Linked DNA regions of Homo sapiens: regions 1 and 3 are each linked to region 2. Evidence: promoter capture Hi-C in human tissues and cell types (Jung and others, 2019). All regions are on one chromosome and are shown on one strand. Each heading gives the region's core, a stretch centred on a gene start or on the middle of the fragment in contact. The rest is flanking DNA. Distances are from core to core; before and after follow the strand shown. Region 1 holds the start of MIR3133 (microRNA 3133). Region 2 holds the start of BOK (BCL2 family apoptosis regulator BOK). Region 3 overlaps ATG4B (autophagy related 4B cysteine peptidase).

What was found. Contacts are between HindIII fragments. The study calls those that stand out against the background at their distance.
Region 1: a fragment that was not itself captured here is called in contact with the fragment with the promoter of BOK in region 2 in 3 of the 25 tissues and cell types used here (IMR-90 fibroblasts, lymphoblastoid cells and mesenchymal stem cells).
Region 3: a fragment that was not itself captured here is called in contact with the fragment with the promoter of BOK in region 2 in 2 of the 25 tissues and cell types used here (IMR-90 fibroblasts and hippocampus).

What each region holds. Positions count from the first base shown.
Region 1 is chr2:241,474,584-241,478,739 of GRCh38, reverse strand. FARP2 (FERM, ARH/RhoGEF and pleckstrin domain protein 2) reads right to left here. Exons shown (of 27, transcript NM_014808.4): 19 at 2,753-2,883. MIR3133 (microRNA 3133) reads right to left here and starts at 835; the gene lies at 758-835. It also overlaps the pseudogene KCTD5P1. The HindIII fragment of the contact is 3,627 bases long and covers 166-3,792 here.
Region 2 is chr2:241,556,363-241,561,118 of GRCh38, reverse strand. It overlaps BOK (BCL2 family apoptosis regulator BOK), which reads right to left and starts at 2,374. Exons shown (of 5, transcript NM_032515.5): 1 at 2,126-2,374; 2 at 1,416-1,664. The coding sequence starts at 1,635. It overlaps BOK-AS1 (BOK antisense RNA 1), which reads left to right and starts at 1,976. Exons shown (of 2, transcript NR_033346.1): 1 at 1,976-2,342. RefSeq lists silencers at 1,352-1,481, 1,532-1,601, 1,632-1,711. The HindIII fragment of the contact is 1,356 bases long and covers 1,990-3,345 here.
Region 3 is chr2:241,646,312-241,650,893 of GRCh38, reverse strand. The region is part of intron 1 of ATG4B (autophagy related 4B cysteine peptidase); the gene reads right to left. Among named protein-coding and RNA genes, the nearest start is that of ATG4B, 11 kb to the right of the region's middle. The HindIII fragment of the contact is 8,495 bases long and covers 1-4,582 here.

The DNA.
Region 1 (4,156 bases), core at 730-3,229, 82 kb after region 2:
GTGATGTTTTGCTCTCTTGTTCTCTAATTTTGTCCTTTACAAGTTTTATTAATGAAGTGATACTGTAAAATTCTGCTTTTTCCAACACTCCTTCCTCCACAAGGTCTTTGTTAATCACCAGCTTGCCACGTCTCAGGTAGTTCAACACAGGCCCAAAATAGGTGGGGTCTCTGTCCATTAAATAGGCAACAGTTTCATCCTTGTCGGGGTTAGCCTGATACAAGGAGTACAGGAAGTATTTCAGGTCCTGGCACAGCATCTGCTGGGTGGTGAGAAAGTAGGTGCCACCAATGTTGAGCCAGAGCCATTTGGACAAGCTACCGGGTGCTGGGCCACGGCACTCTGAGTCTTGCACTGCAGCAGCACAGGTCGCCCCCGCCAGCCCTGCCCTAAGGCTGCCCCAGGCAGGTGGCAGTGCTCGCATTAATTCCTTTTTTTCTGAGACAGGGTCTCACTCTGTTGTCCAGGCTAAAGTGCAGTGGTGGGATCATAGCTCACTGCAACGTTGAACTCCTGGGCTCAAGCAATGCTCCTACCTTAGCCTCCCGAGTAGCTGGGTCTATAGGTGTGCACCGCTACACTTGGCTGACAATAGTTTCTTAGATATAACATCTAAGACACAAGCAACTAAAGAAAAAAAATAGATAAATTAAAAGCTTTCATGTTGTAAATGAAGGCCACATCAAGACAGTGAAAAGACAACCCACACAATGGGAGAAAATGTTTGCAAATCATAGTCTGATAAAGGTCTAGCATTCAGAATATATAAAGAACTCTTAAAACTCAACAGGTTGTCTTTTTACTATTGGGTTTTAAGAGTTCTTTACAATTTCTGAATAAAATAAAAGGTGGGCAAAGGATTTGAATAGACATTTCTCCAAAAAAGGCCTACAAATGGCCAATAAGCACATGAAAAGATGCTCAATATCATTAGCTATCAGGGAAATACAAATTGTAACCACACAAGACAGCATTACACACTCACTAAAATGGCTAGAACCAAAAAGTGACACATGATGTGAGAAACTGGAAGTCTCATACGAGTTGGTGGGAATGAAAAATGGTTCAGTCACTTTGGAAAACAGTTTGGCAGTTCCTCAAAATGTTAAACATGGAATTACCATATGAACCTGTATATGGTATATACTCAAAACTGAAAACATAAGTCCACACAAAACTTGTACATGAACGTCCACAGCAGCACTATTCGTAACAGCCAAGAAGTGGAAATAACCCAGTGTCCATCAGATGAGTGGAGAGACGTGTGATACATGCATGATGGAGTATGATTCAGCCACAAAAAGGAACATGAGGCCGGGCACGGTGGCTCATGCGTGTAATCCCAGCACTTTGGGAGGCCAAGGTGGGTGGATCACAAGGTCAAGAGCTTGAGACCATCCTGGCCAACATGGTGAAACCCTGTCTCTGCTAAAAATACAAAAATTAGCTGGGCATAGTGGTATGTGCCTGTAGTCCCAGCTACTTGGGAGGCTGAGGCAGGAGAATCACTTGAACCTGGGAGGCGGAGGTTGCAGTGAGCCAAGATCGCGGCACTGCACCCCAGCCTGGTGACAGAGCAAGACTCTGTCTCAAATAAAAAAAAAAAAAAAAAAAAAGGAACATGAATGAACCTTGAAAAGATTATTCTGAGTGAAAGAAGAGTCACAAGAGGCCACATTAATGTGTGATACCATTTCTATGAAATGCCCAGACAGGTAACTCCTTAGAGACAGAAAGCAGATCAGTGGTTGCCAGGGGTTAGGGAGCAGAACGAGGTCCCCACAGAACAGCATCCCCACCCAGAACAGGGTTACCTCAGAACAGAGTCTCCTGAGAACAGGGTTCCCTTCAAAATAGTGATGGGAAGTGACTGTTAATTGCTGTGGGGGTTTCACTTTGGGGTGATGAAAATGTTCTGAATTCGACATTGATGGCTACATAACCTTGTGAAGATACTAAAACCCACTCAATTATATATTTTTTGTATGTATGTATGTGTGTATGTATGTATATATGTACCTATTTTATTTTATTTTATTTATTTTATTTTGAGACGGAGTTTCGCTCATGTTACCCAGGCTAGAGTGCAATGGCGTGATCTTGGTTCACTGCAACCTCCACCTCCCGGGTTCAAGCGATTCTCCTGCCTCAGCCTCCTGCGTAGCTGGGATTACAGGCATGTGCCACCATGCCCTGCTAATTTTTTGTATTTTTAGTAGAGACAGGGTTTCTCCATGTTGGTCTGGCTGGTCTCGAACTCCCAACCTCAGGTGATCTGTCTGCCTTGGCCTCCCAAAGTGCTGGGATTACAGGCGTGAGCCACTGTGCCTGGCTGTATTTACTCATTTTTAACAGAGACAGGGTCTTGCTCTGTTGTCAGGCTGGAGTGCAGTGCTGTGATCAGGGCTTACTCCAGCCTCGACCTCCTTGGCTCAAGCGATCCTCCCATCTCAGTCTCCTGAGTAGCTGGGACCACAGGTGTGCGCCACCACACCCAGCAATTCTTTTTTTTTTTTTTTTTTTTTAATTCATAGAAATGGGGTTTCCCTGTGTTGCTCAGTCTGGTCTTGAACTCCTGGGCTCAAGCGATCCTCCCACCTCAGCCTCCCAAAGTATTCAGATTACAGGTATGAGCCACTGTGCCTGGCCAAAATTATACATTTTAAAATGGTGACTTTTGTGGTATGTAAATTATATCTCAATTGAAAAACCAAAGTAGCTCAAAAAACATTCCCAGAGCAAGGTCACTCACCCTGCCAGGAGCAATGAGGTTCTCTATGCCCACCAGGTCCCGCTGCAGCTCCGTTAGCTTCTGCAGGTTCTCCAGCCGGATGAGAATGTGCTGTAGTGTGGTGGTCACCTCTGTGATGGCTTTCAGGGCGTCTGTGTGGAGAGACCCCTCAGTACAGGTGTACAGGCAGTGGTGTGCACAGCACCCTCCACCCACCACCTTGTGACAGGAACCAGCATTCTAAAAGGCAGTTCTAATTAGAGGTACATCCTACTCGACTCCTTATAGCAGCGGTCCCCAACATTTTTGGTACCAGGGATGGGTTTCATGGAAGACAATTTTTCCACAGACCAGAGGTGGTAGGAATGGTTTGGGGATGAAACTGTTCCACCTCAGATCATCAGGCATTTGTTAGATTCTCACAAGGAGCATACAAACTAGATCCCCCACATGTGCAGTTCACAATAGGGTTTGTGCTCCCATGAGAATCTAATGTTGCTGCTGATCTGACAGGAGGAGGAGCTCAGGTGGTAATGCAAGCAATGGGGAGTGGCTGTAAATACAGAGAAGCTTCACTTGCCCGCCACTCACCTCCTGCCGTGTGGCCTGGTTCCTAACAGGCTATGGACTGGACTGGTACTAGTCCATAGCCATGGGCACTGGGGACCCCTGCCTTATAGGACTTATAGGACTGCTGCCTACTATGTGCAGCCACCAGGCGCCTGCTCCTGCAGATACCCCTGAGGCCTTCAGGTTGTTCAACCCAAACTGTTGGCCAGCCCATATTCTGGTTTGGCAAAGAGGATAGGCTTTGTAAATAACCATTTAATGTTATGGGTAAGGCAGTATTTGCTCTTAAAGGAAAATGATTTATTGTACTTTAAAGGCTAAATGATTTGCACCTTCAAAGCAATTGTAACTTTCTCTTTTAACCAGGAACAGATGCTAATCTTATAGTTCAAGCAAAGATAAGAGAAAGTTTATAATCTGGACAGGAAACTTAAAACACAAAGTTATACTAAGAGTGGTCTGCCCAGCTCTGAGGCCATGCTGAGAGTGGTGGCGTAGCATAGCTGAGCCTGCTCCCAACTCTGATGATGCCTGGAGCACAGGGTCTGCATCCTCCTTGCTGGAATCACTCATGGGGACCACTTTCCCCCTTCTTTCTTTTTATTTATTTATTTATTTATTTATTTATTTATTTATTATTATTATTAGAGACAGGGTCTCACTCTGTCTCCCAGGCTGGAGTGCAGTGGCACGATCTTGGCTCACTGAAACCTCCGCCTCTCAAGTTCAAGCAACTCTTGTGCCTCAGCCTCCCGAGTAGCGGGGACTACAGATGCCCGCCACAACGCCTGGCTAATTTTTTGTATTTTTAGTAGAGACAGGGTTTCACCATGTTGGCCAGGCTGGTCTCCCACT
Region 2 (4,756 bases), core at 1,125-3,624:
ATCTGGAAGCAGAGCAGAGCCCATGAGAGGCTGGCTGGGGGCGGGGGACGACATGGAAATTCCCAGGACTGACCCGGCAGCTCCCAAACACAGATCTCCGGGGCTGCTGCAGGCTGGCCCCAGACTGAAGGTGGGGACACAACCCGGGCTTCTTCCTGTCTGCACTGCCCAAGGGCAGGGAGACAGCGCTGGCCTCAAGGGACTGACCCTGAGCAGCCGTGAGGGCAGATGCAGGTCTGAGCTGTGTCCCTCTGGGGTCCCCCTAGACATCTGGGACTTCTTCCCAGCCATTCCAGGGGTCTGGCATCATCTTTTCAGAAGGCCACTAAAAGGATCCCCTAGGGTCATTCTCAGAGCCCGACTAGAGGCAGCAGCAGGCGGCGGATCTCATGGAGCCCCACCAACCCCCTAGCTCCCACCCAGAGACCTCTCCCTCCTTCTGAACTTCTCAGATGGGACTCCACCTCCTCCTGGAGGCTCTGTGCTGGTCCCCATGGATTCTGTCTGCACCCCACACACACTCCTGGGCAGGCCAGGTCTACACAGCTTTGCTCTCTGGGCCCAGCCCACCACGTAAGGGCAGGGGCCACCTAGAGCCCATGCCAGCGCCAGCCTGAGAGGAGGCAGCGTGTCCCCTCACGGGGTCGTGCCCTCCGACTCCAACCCCCTGCCTGGAGAGCCACCGATTCAGTTTCACCTATGCTGTCACCTCCCCTTCCCGGGCTCAGCCACAGGCGCCCCATGTGCCCTCTTCGGGCATCACATAAACATTCCCAGGTGACGGCCACAGCCCAGCTGTGGTGAGGGGACTGGACAGTCACAGTGGGGCTGGTCCCTCCCTCTTGGGTCCAGACCTTGGAGACGGTGGGGGCAGCCAGTGGACCGTGTGTGACCCCAGAACCGAGCACCCCCAGATGTCCTCACAGCACCAACGAATACTGAGGTTTTGGCTACCCAGCCCGGTGGGCGCAGTTTCCAATGGGGGGGCCTCGGAGGCCTCGGAATCCAGAGGGCAGCGGGCGGGATCTCGGCCAGTAACAGCAAGAATCTGTTTTCCAAAATAAACATCGGGACACGTGCTCCTACAAAGGGTTTCTGTGCCCAGCTGAGAACAAGGGTCACTGTGGAAGCTTAGCCACCCACTAATAGATTATTCTTTCTGGAGCTTTCTATTGTTTATGGCCAGCATGACTGAAATCTGGGCTGAGCAGGCAGCTGATGGGGGGGCCTGTGGCGTGGGAGGCCTGAGAGGGCAGATCCGGGAGCACCCGCCTGGGTGGCCCTGTCCCGAGCGCCTGGCCGTCCCAGGCAGGGGGTGGGCGCCCCTGGGCCGGACCCCCATCTCGGCCTCGGAGGGAGGCTGCGGCCCAGCAGGGGAGGAGGCGCAGCTGGGGATCCCACCAGGGCGCACTCACCCAGGCGCAGCAGCACCGCGCACACCTCAGCCAGGCGTCCCGGGACCGGCGCGGCACGCTCGGGCGCGCTCCAGGAGAGGCCGGCGCGCAGCAGCCGCGCGTGCACGTACTCCCGGCCCAGCGCCTTGGCCTGGGCCACCAGCTCCTTGTCTGTGGGCGAGCGGTCAAAGGCGTCCATGATCTCGGCGGCGAAGACCGAGGAGCGCCGCAGCACCTCCATGGCGGCGACGCGGGTGGGGGGCGCCGCACCTGCGGGCACAAGCGCTCAGCCGGGTGGAGGGAGGCGGCGCGGGGAACGGGGCGCGCGGGGCGCCGGGCTGGGCGTGGCCCTCGGGAAGGGCCGTAGCCGGCGCCGGGTCCGCTCTCGTTTTTTGTGCCCCAAATCTTTAAAAACCCAGCGCCACCTTCTTTCAGAGCCCGAATTCAGCTACAGACATTCCCCGAGGCTGCCAGGGACCGGTGGGGCCGCGGGGAGACGGCGGTTTGCTCCGGGGCCGCCGGGCCCGCCCTCGAAGACGAGTGCGTGGGCGGCGGGGGCGGAGGGCACAGCCCAGCGCGTCCCCCACGGCGACTGCCAGGACCCGGCCCTCCCCGCCCCGGCCCGGGGCCGCCCACCTCCGCCGCTGGCGTCCTGCGCGCGTGTCCCCGGCCTCGCCGTTCCCGTGGCACCCCGGGCACCCCGGCACGGACGCCACGCCCGCCGCGCTCACCTCTCCCGCCGCATGGCGCGGGCGCCGGGGTGGAGTTCTGGCTTCAGGATCTGCTCGCCGCCGACGACGACCTCGACCCTTCCATTCAGACCCGCGAGGACGCGCGCCCCGCCCCGGCGCCCGCCCCGTCCACGCCCGAGCCGGGAGCGCCAGGTCCACGGGGCTTCCCGCGCTCTTGGGGGGCTCCTGCCGCGGCGTCGGGGGCCTGGGCAGCGAGGTGGGCAGCGCGCGACTCCCAGCTGGCGAGAGGCTGGGCTTGGGGCTTGGCCTTCTAAGGGAAAGGCAACCCTGGGGGCGGAGTCGGGGAGACGCTTTCCGAGCTTCCCCGCTTAAGGAGGACCGAGCGAGTTCCCTGGATGCGCCCGGAGAAGGCGACCAGGCCGGAGCGGCCCCCGCAAGGCAGAGCAGTGGGGACCTAGAGCCAGCCCCAGCCGCCTGGGTGTTCCCCGGGGTCCATTTGAAAATTGGGTTGTCTTCTTCGTTCGTAGAGGTTCTTTCCAGAGTCTGGAGACGTGTTCTTGGTCCGGACGCATGCCCTTTGTATTGTAGATGGATTATTGGATTCGCATTTATTGAAGTTATTGCAAATATCTTCCTCTATTTTGTGGTTTACTTTTGCTTTGGATGAACAGGAGTTACTCTTAGTGATGTCCAATTTATCAATATTTTCTTTATGGTTAGTACCTTTTTATTGGGATATCCTCCTGTATTTCCTTTTAGAAGCTTGTTTTAGGGCTCATATTTAGATCTATGATTGATTACATATTAATTATTGTGAATGGTGTGGTACGGGGCTAGAGCTCATTTTTTTTCGTGTAGATATCCAATTGACCTGGCATCATTTATTGAAAAGCATCATTTTTTTTCCACCGAATTGGAGGAGTCCCCAACATCTCAACATAAATCAGCTGAAGAGTGTGTGTGTGTGTGTGTGTGTGTCTCGGAACTCTATCCCACTGGTTTATTTCTTTATCCTTGAATCAACCTCACACAGTTTGAACAATAGGATTAACCAACTTGGCCTAATTCACGTGTGTACAACACTATAAAATACTTATTCTTCCCATGTGCACATAGGATGTTTATCGAAATAGACCATATCATGGACCTTATACAAGTCTCAGCAAATCTCAACGGATTGAAATCTTACAGTGTGTCCTCTCTGAATTAAAAGTCAATAACAGAAAAATTACTGGAAAATCTGCAAATGCTTGGAAATTACATGTCACACTTCTAAATAATCAATGGGTCAATAATCACAGTGGAAGATTAAAATATGTTGACAAGAACAGTGAAAAATAAGACATATCAAATGCTGTACAGTGCAACTAAAACACTGCTTAGAGGAAATTTGATAGCTTTAGAAGAAGGATTGAAAATTAGGCCAGGTGAAATGACTCAGACCTGTAATCCCAGCATTTTGGGAGGCCTAGGTGGGCAGATCACCTGAGCTCAGGAGTTTGAGACCAGCCGGGTCAAAATGGTGAAAACCCCGTCTCTACTAGAGATACAAAAAATGAGTTGGGTGTGGTGGCAGGTGTCTGTAATCCCAGCTACTAAGGAGGCTGAGGCAGGAGAATTGCTTGAACCTGGGAGGCGAAGGTTGCAGTGAGCAGAGATCATCCCACCTGCACTCCAGCCTGGACAACAGAGTGTGATTCCATCTCAAAAAAAAAAAAAAAAAAGGAAAAAGAAAAATAAAATTACTGCTCTAAGCTTCCACTCAAGAAGCTAGAAAAGAACAATAAAACTAAAGATGAAAGGAAATAATAAAAATAAGAGCAGAAATTAATGGAATAAAGCAAAAAATAGAGAAAATCAACAAAGCCAAAAATTGGTTCTTTGAAGAGATTAATAGAACTGATAAATCCCCAGAAAGATTGAGTAAGAAAAAAGATAACACAAATTTCACTATCAAGAATGAAAAAGAGGACATCACTGTAGATACTACAAGCATTAAAGGGATAAAAAGATAGTATGGAGGACTTTTTGACAGTGCATTTGAAATTTTAGATGATACACAACTTACCAAAACTGACACTAAAAGAAATAGAAAATCTGGATAGTCCTACACCAATTAAATGCATTGAATCTGTAATTTAAAATCTTCCCACAAAGAAAATTCTAGGTTCAGATGGTTTCATTGAGAAATTCTTCTCAACAGTTAAAAAAATACCACCAGTCTCATACAAACCTGCACAGAGACTAAAAATGAGGGAGTATTTCCCAACTCATTTTATGAGGTCAATGTAATTTTAATACCGAAACCTGTCAGGAACATTACCAGAAGCTAGGAAAGCTATGGAACTTCTATCTGCTATGACTTTCCTGTCTGGGAAGTAGGAAGAATAATAATACCTACCTCCTAGGATTGTTGAGAGGACTGAATTCTTTTTTTTTTTTTTTTTTTTTGAGACGGAGTCTCGCTCTGTTGCCAGGCTGGAGTGCAATGGCGTAAACTCGGCTCACTGCAACCCCGCCTCCTGGGCTCCAGCGATTCTCCTGCCTCAGCCTCCCGAGTAGCTGGGACTACAGGCACCTGACACCACGCCCGGCTAATTGTTTGTATTTTTGGTAGAGAGGGGGTTTCACCATGTTGGCCAGGATGGTCTCGATCTCTTGACCTCGTGA
Region 3 (4,582 bases), core at 25-2,524, 91 kb before region 2:
GCAGCACTCCCTCTCGTATCTCGGGCCTACCAAGACACCCACCATGGATGGAGTAAACTCTTAGGAAAGAGAAGGAGGCCCTGCTGGGCAGCTGCTCTGCTAAGGTATGGGGACAGGGAGGTGGGGCCAGCATGCTACTTCCTGAGCCTTTCATATTCTGAGCCACTGAGTCAGTGTCTAACAGCTGACACGAGGGTGAGAGGCCAAGTTAGGGGCCAACCTGAGGGGTGAGAAAGCAAAAAAATGAAAACCCACCCGATTCAAGCACTTACTTTAGACTTAAAAAGTAAAGGACAAAAATAAAGTTAAACCACCTCCTTCATCCTTGTACGCAAGGGAAGCCAAGAAGAAACAGGGCAAAGAGTCGTTTTCCATGGCCATCCTAAGGTTTACCAGATGTCACCATGGCAGCGTGTTCAGAGTCACTGTGATGAAGGCAGATGCTCCGGGGCAAGAAACACTGAGCTGCTGGGAAGACTGGGGTTCTGGTCTACCCCAATTTCCTGGTTAGGAGCAGGTGCTGGAGAAGCATGGGGTGCTACTCTCAGGTAGAAAGTTAACCCCTGGACACTGAGAGATCAAACTCTCTGCCAAGTCCCCAGAGGTACCCGGGTACAAAAAGCCTAGTGATCAAGGACTGAACCTGTTTTCATTTCAACAATGCTACCAGAAGAGCATGCCACCACTTCCATGGGGCAACACCCCACTTTCTAAGGAGGCAGCTGGCTGCAGAGCCATGGTGCTTACCTGCTGGGCTAATGATTAGCCCTGCATGCCATCTTACTCTGTTTTACTTCAATTAAGAAACTAGGCCAGGCACAGTGGCTCATGCCTGTGATCCCAGCACTCTGGGAGGCCGAGGTGGGCAGATCACCTGAGGCCAGGAGTTTGAGACCAGCCTGGTCAACATGGTGAAACTCCGTCTCTACTAAAAGTACAACAATTAGCCAGGCGTGGTGGCGGGCGCCTGTAATCCCAGCTACTAGGGAGACTGAGCCAAGAGAATCACTTGAACCCAGAAGGTGGAGGTTGCAGTGAGCTGAGATTGTGCCACTGCACTCCAGCCTGGGTGACAAGAGTGAAACTCCATCTCAAAAAAAAAAAAAAAAGAAAAAGAAAAGAAAAAGAAAAAAAAGAAAGAAAGAAACTAGAGAGGCCCAGGGTCTTCCTGTCCACAGAACTGTGGCTGAGGATACCCATGTCCCACAATGTTCCTGAAAAGAAGGCGCCAGCCAGCAGCAATGCACCAGCCCAAACACCCATGTGGCGAGATGCCCATTGCGTATTCTGGGGCGGCACCAGAGGCATCTCTCTCCAGCTGCTCTTCAGGGAACTGGGAACACACAATTCCCATCTGCTGCCTCTCCAGCTCTGATGGTGTCTGATCACTCATCCTTCACCAGCAACTTTACAGCAATCTTTTGAAAATCAATCACATATGAATTTCTCCCACATCTAAATTTACTTTTTGATAACAACCCCACACTTCAATAAGAATGACATATGCTAATCATAAAAAATTCTGAAGACTACAAAAATACACAAATCACGTGAAGCCTCGTTGCCCAGCAATGACTCTTTCCAGAAGTCTTTATGCACAGGTTCGTACGTGAAATCATACTATGCCTGTGGTTTCCTCAGCATTCTACATAAACACAGATCTCCACCTAAGCTGATACTAAAAAGCATCGTGTGTGAACTTCTGTGCTGTGCACAATCCCCTTGGGGAGGCAGGGGGCAGTCAGAATTTAAAGCCCAGCTTGGGTACTGGTAAACTGTAGTTTCCTGGGCCACTCACTTAACTTCTAAGTGTGAATGTTCCCTCATCCATAAAATGGGATAACAACAGGACAGCCTCAGCATATGGGTGTGACGTTTCAATGAAACACTTCCAATGAGGTGCTGGCTGGCAGACAGAAGGGCTGCAATGTCCGCTCTGTCATTAACATCGAGGACTCAGAACCACAGGGTCAAAGGCACACAAATTTTACTATACCCAAAAGCCTTAATTGTATGCGCAGCTAATTCCCAAACACAGGGTTCAGAAGCACCTGCAAGCATCTCCCTCGGTGCAGGCAGAACTACCAAATCCACAATAGAGGGCCCTACAGGCACTGTTTAAAGGATTCTCAGCTGTGGGAGACCCAGGCCCCTCTCTGCCCCTTTCCTAGAGTAGTGCTGTGGCTTCCTGAGCAAGATGACGGGCGTTGTGGAGCGGCTGCAGCCAGATGAAGCAAGCTTTCCACAGCAGGGCTTTGTCCAAGAGCTCTGCTCCTGTTTTTTTTTCTTTTTTTTTTTTGAGACCGGGACTCATTTTGTCACCCAGGCTGGAGTACAGTGGTGTAATCACAGCTTACTGCAGCCTCAAACTCCCAGGCTCAATCAATTCTCCGGTCTCAGCCTCCTGAGCAGCTGAGACTACAGGCATGTGCCACCACACCCAGCTAATTCTTGTATTTTTTGTAGAGATGAGGTCTAATCATGTTGTCAAGCTGGTCTCAAACTCCTAGGCTCAAGCAATCCACCTGCCTTAGCCTCCCGAAGGCTGGGATTACAGGCATGAGCCACTGCACCTGGCCCCCAAGAGCTCTGCTCTTACATATTTCACTTGTCCATGCTTTCAGAGACATTATCAACCAAACTGCTTGGTGACTGTGAATAAATAAAGTCCAAGTTTACATTCTCTCCTGCCTTTTTATATATATGTTACTTGTTTCTGCACATGATTACAAAAACTGAATTAGGATGAATTAAGGTCCATGCCTTTTTTTTATTCTTTTGTGATGGAGTCTCACTCTGTTGCCCAGGCTGAAGTGCAGTGGCATGATCTTGGCTCCCTGCAACCTCCACCTTCCGGGTTCAAGAAATTCTCCTGCCTCATCCTCCCGAGTAGCTGGGATTACAGACATCTGCCACCATGCCCGGCTAATTTTTGTATTTTTAGTAGAGACAGGGTTTCACTGTGTTAGCCAGGCTGGTCTCGATCTCCTGACCTCAAGTGATCCACCCACCTCGGCCTCCCAAAGTGCTGGGATTACAGGCGTGAGCCACAGCATCCGGCCCACTCCTATCTTTTTAAAGAGCTGAAAAACATCATGATGTCCCTGCTACCTCTCTAAAGCCACTCCTGAATCTTCAGAAGTCCCTACTATTCTTTGACCTGTAGGCTTTATTCAATATATAGACTAAAATCCAGAAAACTTATTCTCAAGGAAAAAGGATGAAAACACCACCGGTCTAATTTCTTTTCTTTTTTTTTTTTTTTTTTTTTGAGACGGAGTCTCACTCTGTCGCCCACCAGGCTGGAGTGCAGTAGCGCGATCTCGGCTCACTGCAAGCTCTGCCTCCCGGCTCATGCCATTCTCCTGCCTCAGCCTCCTGAGTAGCTGGGACTACAAGCGCCCGCCACCACGCCTGGCTAATTTTTTGTATTTTTTTTAGTAGAGACGGGGTTTCACTGTGTTAGCCAGGATGGTCTCAATCTCCTGACCTCATGATCCTCCCGCCTCGGCCTCCCAAAGTGCTGGGATTACAGGCGTGAGCCACTGCGCCTGGCCACCACCGGTCTAATTTCAACACTGCAAGACAATGATTCCATCTTGCTGTTGGAACATTCTTCTCATGTTTGACACCGTTCCAAGGCACCAGCTTTGAACTAAAGATACACATATCTTTTATTTAAAGTACAGCAGAGCTAAATGAACACTGGCAAGTATCTCTTTGTAGACTACAGATGTTCCTTAATTAGGATGGGATTATGTCCAATAAACCCATTGTAAATTGAAAATACTTAGGTCAAAAATGCACTGAGGCCAGGCACAGGGGCTCATGCCTGTAATCCCAGCACTTGGGGAGGCCAAGGCGGGTGGATCACCTGAGGTCAGGAGTTGGAGACCAGCCTGGTCAACATGGTGAAATCCCATCTCTATTAAAAACACAAAAAGTTACTCGGGCATGGTGGCAGGTGCCTGTAATCCCAGCTACTCGGGAGGCTGAGGCAGGAGAATTGCTTAAACCCAGGAGGCGGAGGCTGCAGTGACCTGAGATCGCGCCACTGCATTCCAGCCCAGGTGGGAGAGTGAAACTCTGTCTCAAAAAAAAAAAAAAAAAAAGCATTGAATACACGTAATCTACCTAACATCATAGCTTAGCCTAGCCTGCCTTAAATGTGCTCAGAACACTTACATTAGCCTACAGTTGGGCAAACTCAGCTGGCAACACAGTGCCCTGTAGAGCAGGGGTCATTCCCCCTTCTCATGATGTGGCTGACGAGGAGCTATCTGGCATCTCGAGAGTATCTGGAGGCATACTGCTAGCCCAGAAAAAGATCAAAATTCAAAACGTCAAGTATGGTTTCCATAGAATGCATACTGCTTTCACACTATCGTAAAGTCAAAAAATTGTAAGTCAAACCATGGTAGTTTGGAGACCATCTGTACTTCAGAAGAATGTGGCGTATGTCATCAGGAAAAGGACCATATTGTTGAATCAGTAACAGTCTGCAGTAACAGAATCTGGAAGCTGAGAAACTTCTAGGATGTCTAGTTTCCCATATTAAAAATATAAATGGTAAAGGAATGAG